2 separate regions of the Homo sapiens genome follow, and region 1 is linked to region 2. Evidence: promoter capture Hi-C in human tissues and cell types (Jung and others, 2019). All regions are on one chromosome and are shown on one strand. Each heading gives the region's core, a stretch centred on a gene start or on the middle of the fragment in contact. The rest is flanking DNA. Distances are from core to core; before and after follow the strand shown. Region 1 has its middle 94 kb from the start of NUS1. Region 2 holds the start of ASF1A (anti-silencing function 1A histone chaperone).

What was found. Contacts are between HindIII fragments. The study calls those that stand out against the background at their distance.
Region 1: a contact is called between a fragment that was not itself captured here and the fragment with the promoter of ASF1A in region 2, in 1 of the 25 tissues and cell types used here (lymphoblastoid cells).

Annotation. Positions count from the first base shown.
Region 1 is chr6:117,767,205-117,771,883 of GRCh38, reverse strand. No RefSeq gene overlaps it. Among named protein-coding and RNA genes, the nearest start is that of NUS1, 94 kb to the right of the region's middle. RefSeq lists an enhancer at 123-192. The HindIII fragment of the contact is 3,703 bases long and covers 1,154-4,679 here.
Region 2 is chr6:118,891,161-118,895,507 of GRCh38, reverse strand. It overlaps ASF1A (anti-silencing function 1A histone chaperone), which reads right to left and starts at 1,356. Exons shown (of 4, transcript NM_014034.3): 1 at 986-1,356. The coding sequence starts at 1,094. The region is part of intron 8 of MCM9 (minichromosome maintenance 9 homologous recombination repair factor); the gene reads left to right. RefSeq lists silencers at 162-691, 1,482-1,621 and an enhancer at 1,072-1,161. The HindIII fragment of the contact is 10,588 bases long and covers 1-3,263 here.

The DNA.
Region 1 (4,679 bases), core at 1,756-4,255, 1.1 Mb after region 2:
AGTATCTTAAAAATGGCTTCAGTTTTTGCCCCTAACATTAATTTCTCCTAAGGGCTGGACCTAGAGACTTCCTTCTAACAAATAAAATATAGCAAAAGTCTTAGAATGTCACTTCCATGGTTAGGTTACAAAAGATTATTTTGGTCATGCTGGCACTCTCTCTCTGGCCCTGTCACTTGACTTCTCTAATAGAAACTAGCAGTCATGTTCTGAACTATCATATGGTGAGGCCCATGTGGTGAGAAACTGAGAGCAGCTTCTGGCCAACAGCCAGTGAGGAACTGAGGCCCTCAGTCCAACAACCTTTGAGGAACTGAATCCTGCCACAACCTCACAAGGAAGCTTAGAAAGGCTCATTTCTCACTCACACCATAAGACCATAGCCCTCGTCAACTCTGAAACCTCTGAGGCTCTGGAGCACAGGACCCAGATAAGCTGTACCCAGATTCTTGACCTGTAGAAAACTGTGACATAGAAACGCTATTGCTTCCAGATTTGAGCTAATTTGTTACATAGCAACATGCAACTAATACAAACTGCCAAGCAATTGTGTTACGTTTGTCAAAGTGTGAAGTTCAGAAATCCAGTAAGAGGGTCTTAGTTATGCTTATCAAATGTCCGGTTCACTATATGTATTAAAAAATATTTGTCAATTAATGAATGAGAAAATATAAGCATAACCAAAACACAGACACACCACAGAGAAAGACCTGGAGTCATTCTTTTGGTATTTTTATAATTTTTTTGAAAGTTGTAGAAAATTGAATAACTGACAGTATTTTAATAAGTTCCTTGAGGTAAATGATAATATATGAAAATTTATGGCAGAGTATAGCAAAATGCTATATTAAAAATGAGGTAATAAAATGATGACTTATTAATCATCAATAAATAATATTGTTATTAAATTTGAGGCTGAAAATTATAAAAGCCATAACAAAAATTCCCCTTTACTTTCCAAATTATTCAATATCTGTATCACATAGAAAAAAATAAAATTAATACTCTAATTGTAAATGGCAACATTTATTCTTTTCACATTCTGGAAAGGGCACAGTTGCACTTGCAACAACCATGCACTGGTGTTAGTAAAGAAGTTTCTCCAAATGACAGACAAGCAAAGGGAAGGGGATATGTTTTTTAGGCAAAATCAGACCTATCCTGTAGAAATGTGACTCTGGAATCCATCACATTCCTCCTGTGTTTTTGATCCTAGAACAGGGTCTGTGTTGCCAATGCCAGCTAATGGCCCAGGGAAGAGGTTTGGCAGATTTAGCCAATAAAAATACAGGATTTCCAATTAAATTTTACATGTTGGATTAACAATGAATAATGTTTAATATAAGTATGCCCAGTAAATTATTTGTTGTTTATCTGTAATTCAAATTTAACTGGTGCTACAGACTGAAATGTGTTCTCCCTAAAGTTCGTATGTTGAAGCTCTAACCCATACTGTAACTATCTTTGAAGATAGAACTTTTAGACGGTAATTAAATAAGGACATAAAGGTGGGATCCTAGTCTAATGGGATTGGTGGCTTTATATGGAGAGAGAGAGAGGGGTCTCTCCACAGCCATGCACCAAGGAAAGGCCATGTGAAGACACAGTGATAACGTGGGCACCTGGCAGCCAGAAGGACAGCCCTCACCAGGAACCAAACCTGCCGATACCTTCCTTTTGGACTTCCCACCCTCCAAAACTGTGAGAAATAAATGTGTGTTGTTTAAGCCACCTAATCCGTGGTATTTTGTTATGGCAGCTTAAGCTAAGACAGCAGGACATCCTATATTTTATCTGGAAACCCTGCCAGTGAGGCCAGATATGAGTGAAGAAGGGAGAGGAGTAGGAAGGAATTCCTTCTAATACCAGTACTGTCCAAACTTGCCTCCCTGTCTCCAAGATGAAGGGAGCAAATTGAACCCTAACCTTCATCACACACCCTCTGTCAGGCTGAGATTTTGAAGCTTCTTGCTCTTTATCTTGATTTCCTCTGAGTGAATGAGTGTGTGTGTGAGTCATTGTAAGGGAGAAATTTGGAAAATGAGGACACTTTGGCCTTTTATCCACAGAAGTGGTTCTGCTTCAAATCAGAGCACAATCCCATAAGGACATGTCCAAAAGTAAGTCTTAGTGATTTTACCTCCCTAATCAAAACACGGATGAAAGCTCCCTGAGGGGAGTTTTGAACTGGATAATTCTTTGTTATGTGAGCCTGTCCTGTGCGTTGTAGGATGTTTAGGACCATTCCTGGCCTCTGTCCTCTAGTAATAACCTCTTCCCCTCAGTTACATTCCAAAATGTTTTCAATCGCCAGCATCACCTGTGAAGTAAAATTGGTCCCAGCTGAGAACCATTAACTTAATCGACACATGCATCAAGGTACTTTAAGAGTATTTTACACTGAATTAGCACAATCTGTGATTGCATTATAAGGTGGGTATCTGAGATTGGCAATCAGGAAAAACTATTTGAACATGGCACCACCCAGCCCAGATTATTCAGCAACTTCGCTAAAGGTAGGTTTCTATATCATGAAAACCTAAGAAAATAATGCTAGCTTAATACAACAATACTTGGTTGTGTGTGTGTGTATGCAAGGAATAGGGTTAAAATACTGTTAATAGAAGAAATATAATCACTGGGTGAGAATATACAATGTCGTCTCCAGAAAAAATTAATTTTCTTCACGATGATACCCTTGTCTAATTGAGAAACAACTGATCACAGCCATATACCTTGTGGAAACCCAAGCTAGAATAAAGGCATTCACTGTCCACCTCTATCTGGAACTCCAACCCCATGCTTGTTGGATCAGAACTCAACTCTCCTCTCTTCAGAGTCAGCATATTCTTTGGAGAAGAAAAACCCCTAACATTTCTTTCCTGCTAAATCTGAGGTGGAACTTACCAGACACACGAAAGGACTGTGGCTTGGACAACTCTACTTGGTGAAGGGTGGAGTTTCCCAAGGGAGAGACAAAATACTCAATGAGAAAAACTGAAAGAAGCTGCTGAGTGAGGACGAGAGAAAGGACTGAAGAGAGAAACTTTGAGAATGAGGAAGCATACGCAGGTGACACTCTGAGACTAAGTGGAGAGGCTTTGGTGTTCCTTTATAGAGGTATGGAGGATGGATTCCCCTTATTAAGTTAAAACTTCTGTCCCTCTCATTTTGCTGTGCTTTGGATTGTTTACTCCAACCCACATCTAAGTGGCACAGTTCACACTGGAGATACATGTATACAATTGCTTATGAAAGGTTTCAATAGAGGGCAGTAAAATGTCTTTGAGGAAGGGGTGGGTATCAGTCAGGTACCTAATAGGAAACTGAGTCCAACTCTGATAATTCAAAAAATATTAATTAAAAGACTACCCCGCTACTCCTCCCATGTGTGCAGAGGGCCGAGGAAACCAATAAGGGATACTGCACTCACTGGCAAGAGCAGGAAGCCAGGACCAATTGGTTTTCACATATTGGTTATTCCCTAATCAATAAGGGAAACCAATAAGGGATATTGCACTCAGACACTGGCAAGAGCAGAAAGCCAGCACCACTCCCAGACCTGAAGGAGCAAGAGCGAGTAGGGCTATCAGAATCTAGTGAAAGCTAGAGTTGTGGGGGAAGGGCCTCCCTCTCAACAGGAGGTACAAATGTGGATGGATGCTGGCACCAGCATAAATGCAGGCCCAAGTGGGTAAGGAGCAGGGAAAATGTTCCATTTTTCCTTCCACCAGTTTAATGTTCTGTAGTCTCCCACTGGCAGAACTCAAGATTGGCAAGAGCGCCCAAGTGATATAGTCAAAAGAAATTGAGTTTAATGAAAAATAAGGCTAAAAATTATAATATGAAGAGTTTATAAAAATGCTCAATAGAAGTAAAATCTAAATTTACTTCTGAGCATTCCAGCAGCCCAAAGAGTTGCATGAAGATGTGCAGTGTCAATATGAGAATCTTCATCTAGTAACTGAGAAGTACAATGAATCCTTCGCTCCAGAAGCTCCATACTTGAATAGTCTCAGGATACACCAAATAAAGCTTTCCTCTCCTATGAGGTAGGGATGTATATGTCTAATCAATTTCTGTACTCTGATGAAAGAATTCGGTCCTCCCTATTTCATGTAGCATATGTAACAGATATGTGATTTCTCCAAGTAAATTTTCCCTAAATCATGTGCCTAGCCATAAAAACAAAACAAGAAAAATAAATACAATGGCTATAATTCTACTCCTAATGAAAGCTTGCAACAAGTTAGAAAAGTCCTTTGTGCAGAAATACTAAAATAATGAACATCATGCTTATATACAGAATCATAACTTTTTGTTATGAATTTTGGCACCCAGATGTATTTTTAAAATACTCTTTGTTTTTTATTGATACATAAATAATTGCACATATTTATAGGGCACATGTGGTATTTTCATTCAAGCATACAATGCATAATGATCAAATCTGAGTAATATCCAGTTCACCCAACACCATTTATTGAAGAGACTCTCCTTTCCCTAATGTATGTTCTTGATGCATTTGTCAAAAATAAGTGGGCTATAAATGTGTGGATTTATTTCTGGGTTATTTATTCTGTTCCATTGTTGTATGTGTCTGTTTTTATGCTACTACCATGCTGCTTTTGTTACTGTAGCTTTGTAGTATATTCTGAAGTTAGGTAGTGTGATGATTC
Region 2 (4,347 bases), core at 107-2,606:
ATTTGGATGTGGAGTTATTTTAGATTTCAACACGGTCTTGAAGAAAGTCTTCCTTCAGACTATTTATAAGGCAGAGATTAAGTCCTGGAAATTATTTAAGTATCTTATTTCTGCTTTTAGGTTAAATGTAACTTCCTACCTCAGCTCTATTTCTCTTCCTGAAATTAGCTTTTCGTCATTAGGGGAAAGGAGTCCACGTTGGTTGGGGAGCCTGCGCGCCAGCATCCCGGCGCATCCCGGGCGCCGGCCGAGGAGGACCGGCCGAACAGGACCCACGGCCCCCGGGGAGCGCCGGCGCCCAGCCCGCGGCGCGGAGGGGCCGAGCCTGCGCCCGCCTCCCCCGCTGGTTGGTCGAGGAAGCCAGAAATCAGCGCGAGGACAGCCTCGCTCTCCTCCCCGAAGCGGCCAGGCATGGCCAGCCCGGAGAGTGCGGCGACTCCACCGTGAGCTCTCGAGAGTGCCTGCCTGCCTTTCGCCGGGGGCAGGCGGGCGGCGGGGCAAGAGGAGGCGCCGTGCGCCGGGGTCGCTGGCCCAATTCTCGACTCGGGGTAAGATGGCTCCGCTCCGAACTCGCCGGCGCGACCACACGCACAGCCTCTCCCTTCCCAGCCTCCGTGCTCGGGCCCGGAGGGTCGCGGAGGCTGTTGGCGGCGCGGAGCCAGCCCGGCGCGACCTCAGGCGGCGCAGCGGGAGCGAGTGCGGGTCTCCGAGCTGCCCGCCCGCAGACAAAGCTGACAACATGGCTACCTCCGCTCCTCCGCTCAAACAAGTTCCTCGCAAGTTGAGCCCGGCAGGCGCCTGGGCTGCGGCGGAAAGCCGCGCGCGCCTCGGCGGCCGTCGTCCATCAACTTCAAGTTTCCCTCCGCAGAGCAGCCCGCGGCCGCCAGGCGCCGAACACAGCCGCCCAGCGCGAGGCCCGGCCCGGGAAACTTTCAACGTCTGCAGCCCGCAACTGACAGCCCGGGCGCACGGGCGCCGCACTCACCTTCAGACAGGTCCTCGATGCACTCGAAGGTGATCTCGAACTGGAACGGGTTGTAGAAAGGAGAAGGGTTATCCAGCACCACTACATTGTTCACCTGAACCTTTGCCATATTTTGAAAAAAACACAAACAATGGGAACTGGGGCTGGTTGCGGCACAATAAAGTCCAGCGCGCGGCCGCTCGGGAGAGCGCAGACCCCCGCTCCAGCGCCGGCCAGACGTCGTGCAGCGGCGACTTGAGAAACTTTTTTCCTCTTTTTATTTACACGGGAGCACTCCACAGTGTTTTGCAGCTTTCCTATTTCACTAAACTACAGCCCATTCTGCTCTGATAAGTAGCAGCGTTGCCCTCGATTGGCTGCACCCGAGTTCTGACCCTCCTCCTCCAGCGAGGGCCTCGGCAGCCAGCAAGATGGGCTCCCGCTCCCGGAATGGACTCGGAAACTTTAACTGCGGCTCCACCTGCTGGTGTGGATTAGGACAAAGGCGGAGAACAAAGTGAGTGGAATAAGGGCTGGGAGGCCCGCGCGGAGGCCGCCGGCGGCGGCGCGGAGAGGGGCGGAGGGGGCGTGGCCGCGGCGGGGAGGCGTGGCTGCGGCGGGAGGGCGCGATCCGGCCGACGCCCGCCCCTCCAGTTGGCTTCGTGTGGGTGTTTTGGCGTTTTTTTGTTTTTTTTTTTGTTTTTTTGGTTTTTTGATTTAACGCTCTTTTTACATCAGTGCAACAGCTTTGCCGGCCTTGCTGAATTTAGCAGATGAGAGTCGGTGTTTACACTGGGTTAGGTTCAGCTTTCTGCGTATCGGGTAGTATTTGGAGTAGAGAGAAAGATTGGCTGCAGGGGAAATAAATTGCATGTTATAGACCGATGTCAGCTCGAAAGGAGCAAAGCCATTTTGGAAATCTAGCTCTTGGCCAGTATCTACGTTTAGGCACGACAGCGCCGTTAAGCAACACAAAATGAAGGGCGAGGAATGATTTTCTACACACTGTGCTTGGAAAATTTAAATAGGTAACCTTTGGGCTTGCACCTGGGCGTCTTCTTCGGAGTCCAGATCTGGGAAGTCCTAGAATAAAAAAAAATCACAAGAGGTGTGATCAGTTATACTTCAGGTTACTGCCATTTGGAGAGCATAGCAGGAACATAAAAGGAGAAAATGGAAGTGTTAGGAGACCAACAGGGCAACAAACGTAATAGAGATGGGAAAAAGAACACAAAGACATAGCAAGACATTTGATCTTCAAAAAAATTTCTGACCTAAACCGTTAGTAAAGCAAATTCTGAGGAGCCCTTGCTTGCCTGTAACCAGTTGAGGTCTGAACTGAGGAAATGTTGATTCGTTTATGCTGCTTGGCTACCATTGCGGGGAAAGAGAAAGCTTTAACATATTTGTGAGCCTAAACCGTTTCTATTTAGTAAGTGGTATAAAGGTTTGTTTTATTATCTGCTAGCCATAAACCATCATTTTTTTCCTTAAATGTTGTGAATGAAACCACCAAACTTGGCCAAATTCAGAGAGAAAATTAATTCTTAAGTATGTGTTCTGGAAGAGTTTTCTCTTAGTATAGTGCCCAGAATTTTGATTTGTCATTCTTTGGTCATTGTTCATACTTAAGTAGGTGGCTTTTGATGAAACGTTTTCATCTGATGGTCTTTTGAAAGTTAATGTGAGACAGCTAATGTCAACCCCTCGTACATTTAGGAAAACCGGTTAGAGTGGGGAAGAGTTCCCTTTTTTTGTCAGTGGATTGAACAGTTAGATATAGGACCTACCAAAAAACACTTCTTCAAGCCAGTTGTTTGTGACATTAGAGTATTAAGAGTCAAACCATGGTGATAGACACAGATTTTTGTGGCTGATAAACAACATACTCTTCATTCTTATTAGTGCTGGTCCTAACACTAGCAGATAAAGTGGAAATTGCTGTATGCTGTAAGACACTCTGTATATGTAAGATAAAATGACCATTTGAAGATTAAAACTCCTGTGAGACTGGTGTATGCAGTTGTCTGATTATTACAGGTACTCTTAAGAGGAGAGTCTAGTCAGTCTCATGAAAACGACATTTTATGCTTGTTAAAATCACGTGCATTTTGCAGTCTGACCGTAAGTGTTACAATGAGACTAGTTGTAAAACTCACTTTTGGTGGATGTGCAGCATGAAGGACTGAGAAGATCTACCTGAATGCCACTAATTTGGCTTATTTTCTTTAAAATTTTTTGTTTAACACATCATATGCAACAGTATTTAAGAAGAAAAAACTCCCCAACATTTCACTGGAAGCTGCAAGAATTAGCTCCAGGCTTCTCCTGTCTTAACTCTTGTATTATTGCTTGTCAGAAATACTAAAGGGTCGTTGAGCACTTTGTTCAATAGTTTCCTCACCATTGATACTACCTTACTCCAGGAGAGACCGAAAGGATTCCTCAGATATGTCCTGGCATATTTCTAATTTAACTGGTATGCTGTAGGAAAAAAAGAATTGTGAAAGCCTCTCTCTGGTTTCAGAGGCAATCAGTAGGACTTGTTGCTGAACAACTTTGGTGACTCCCAAACATCTAATTGTACAACAGATGGGTCACTGTGAATGTCTTTATTAAGTACCCAAGGGGGTCCCACATAATGTTTGGAGGGCTGCATGGAATGTAATCCCCCAATCACTTCTCACTATGGGTTACTTGGGGGAAGGATGGCTGAGAGAGATTTTATCGGCTCTAAGATGAACAGAACAAAGCCTAAACTAGTGCTTAGGGCAGAAATACATGAAACTAGTTAGTTGTTGTTTTAGACTGAATTATGTCTCCCCCAAATTCGTATGTTGAAGCACTAATCCCTAGTACCTCAGAATGTGACTGTATTTGGAGATTAAGTTAAATGAGGTGATTGGGGTGGGCCCTAATCTAATCTAGCTGGCGTCCTCACAAGGGGAAATTTAGATTTACAGAGAAGCACAAGGGTCACACGCACACAGAGGAAACACAGCAAAAAGGTGGCCATTTGCAAGCCAAGCAAAGAGGCTTTAGAATAAACCAAACCTGCCAACACCTTGATCTTGGATTTCTAGCTTCCAGAACTGTGAGAAAGTAAATTTCTATTGTTTAAGCCACCCAGTGAGTGATATTTTGTTATGGCAGCTCTAACAACCTAATATAGCTATAAGATATTTTTCCCCTCAGAATTAAGCTTATTTGAGCATCTAATCTTACTGAATCCAAATATTGGTCAGTTCCCAAGCACTTCCTGTGGGTGAAATGATGTGGTCCTTTAGCCATGCCAGTAAGGGTGTGGCGTATGTGGAGTGGTGTGCTGTTGCCATTCTTCAGAGGAAGTATATACCACTGGGCATATAGCTTGAATTCTGAAG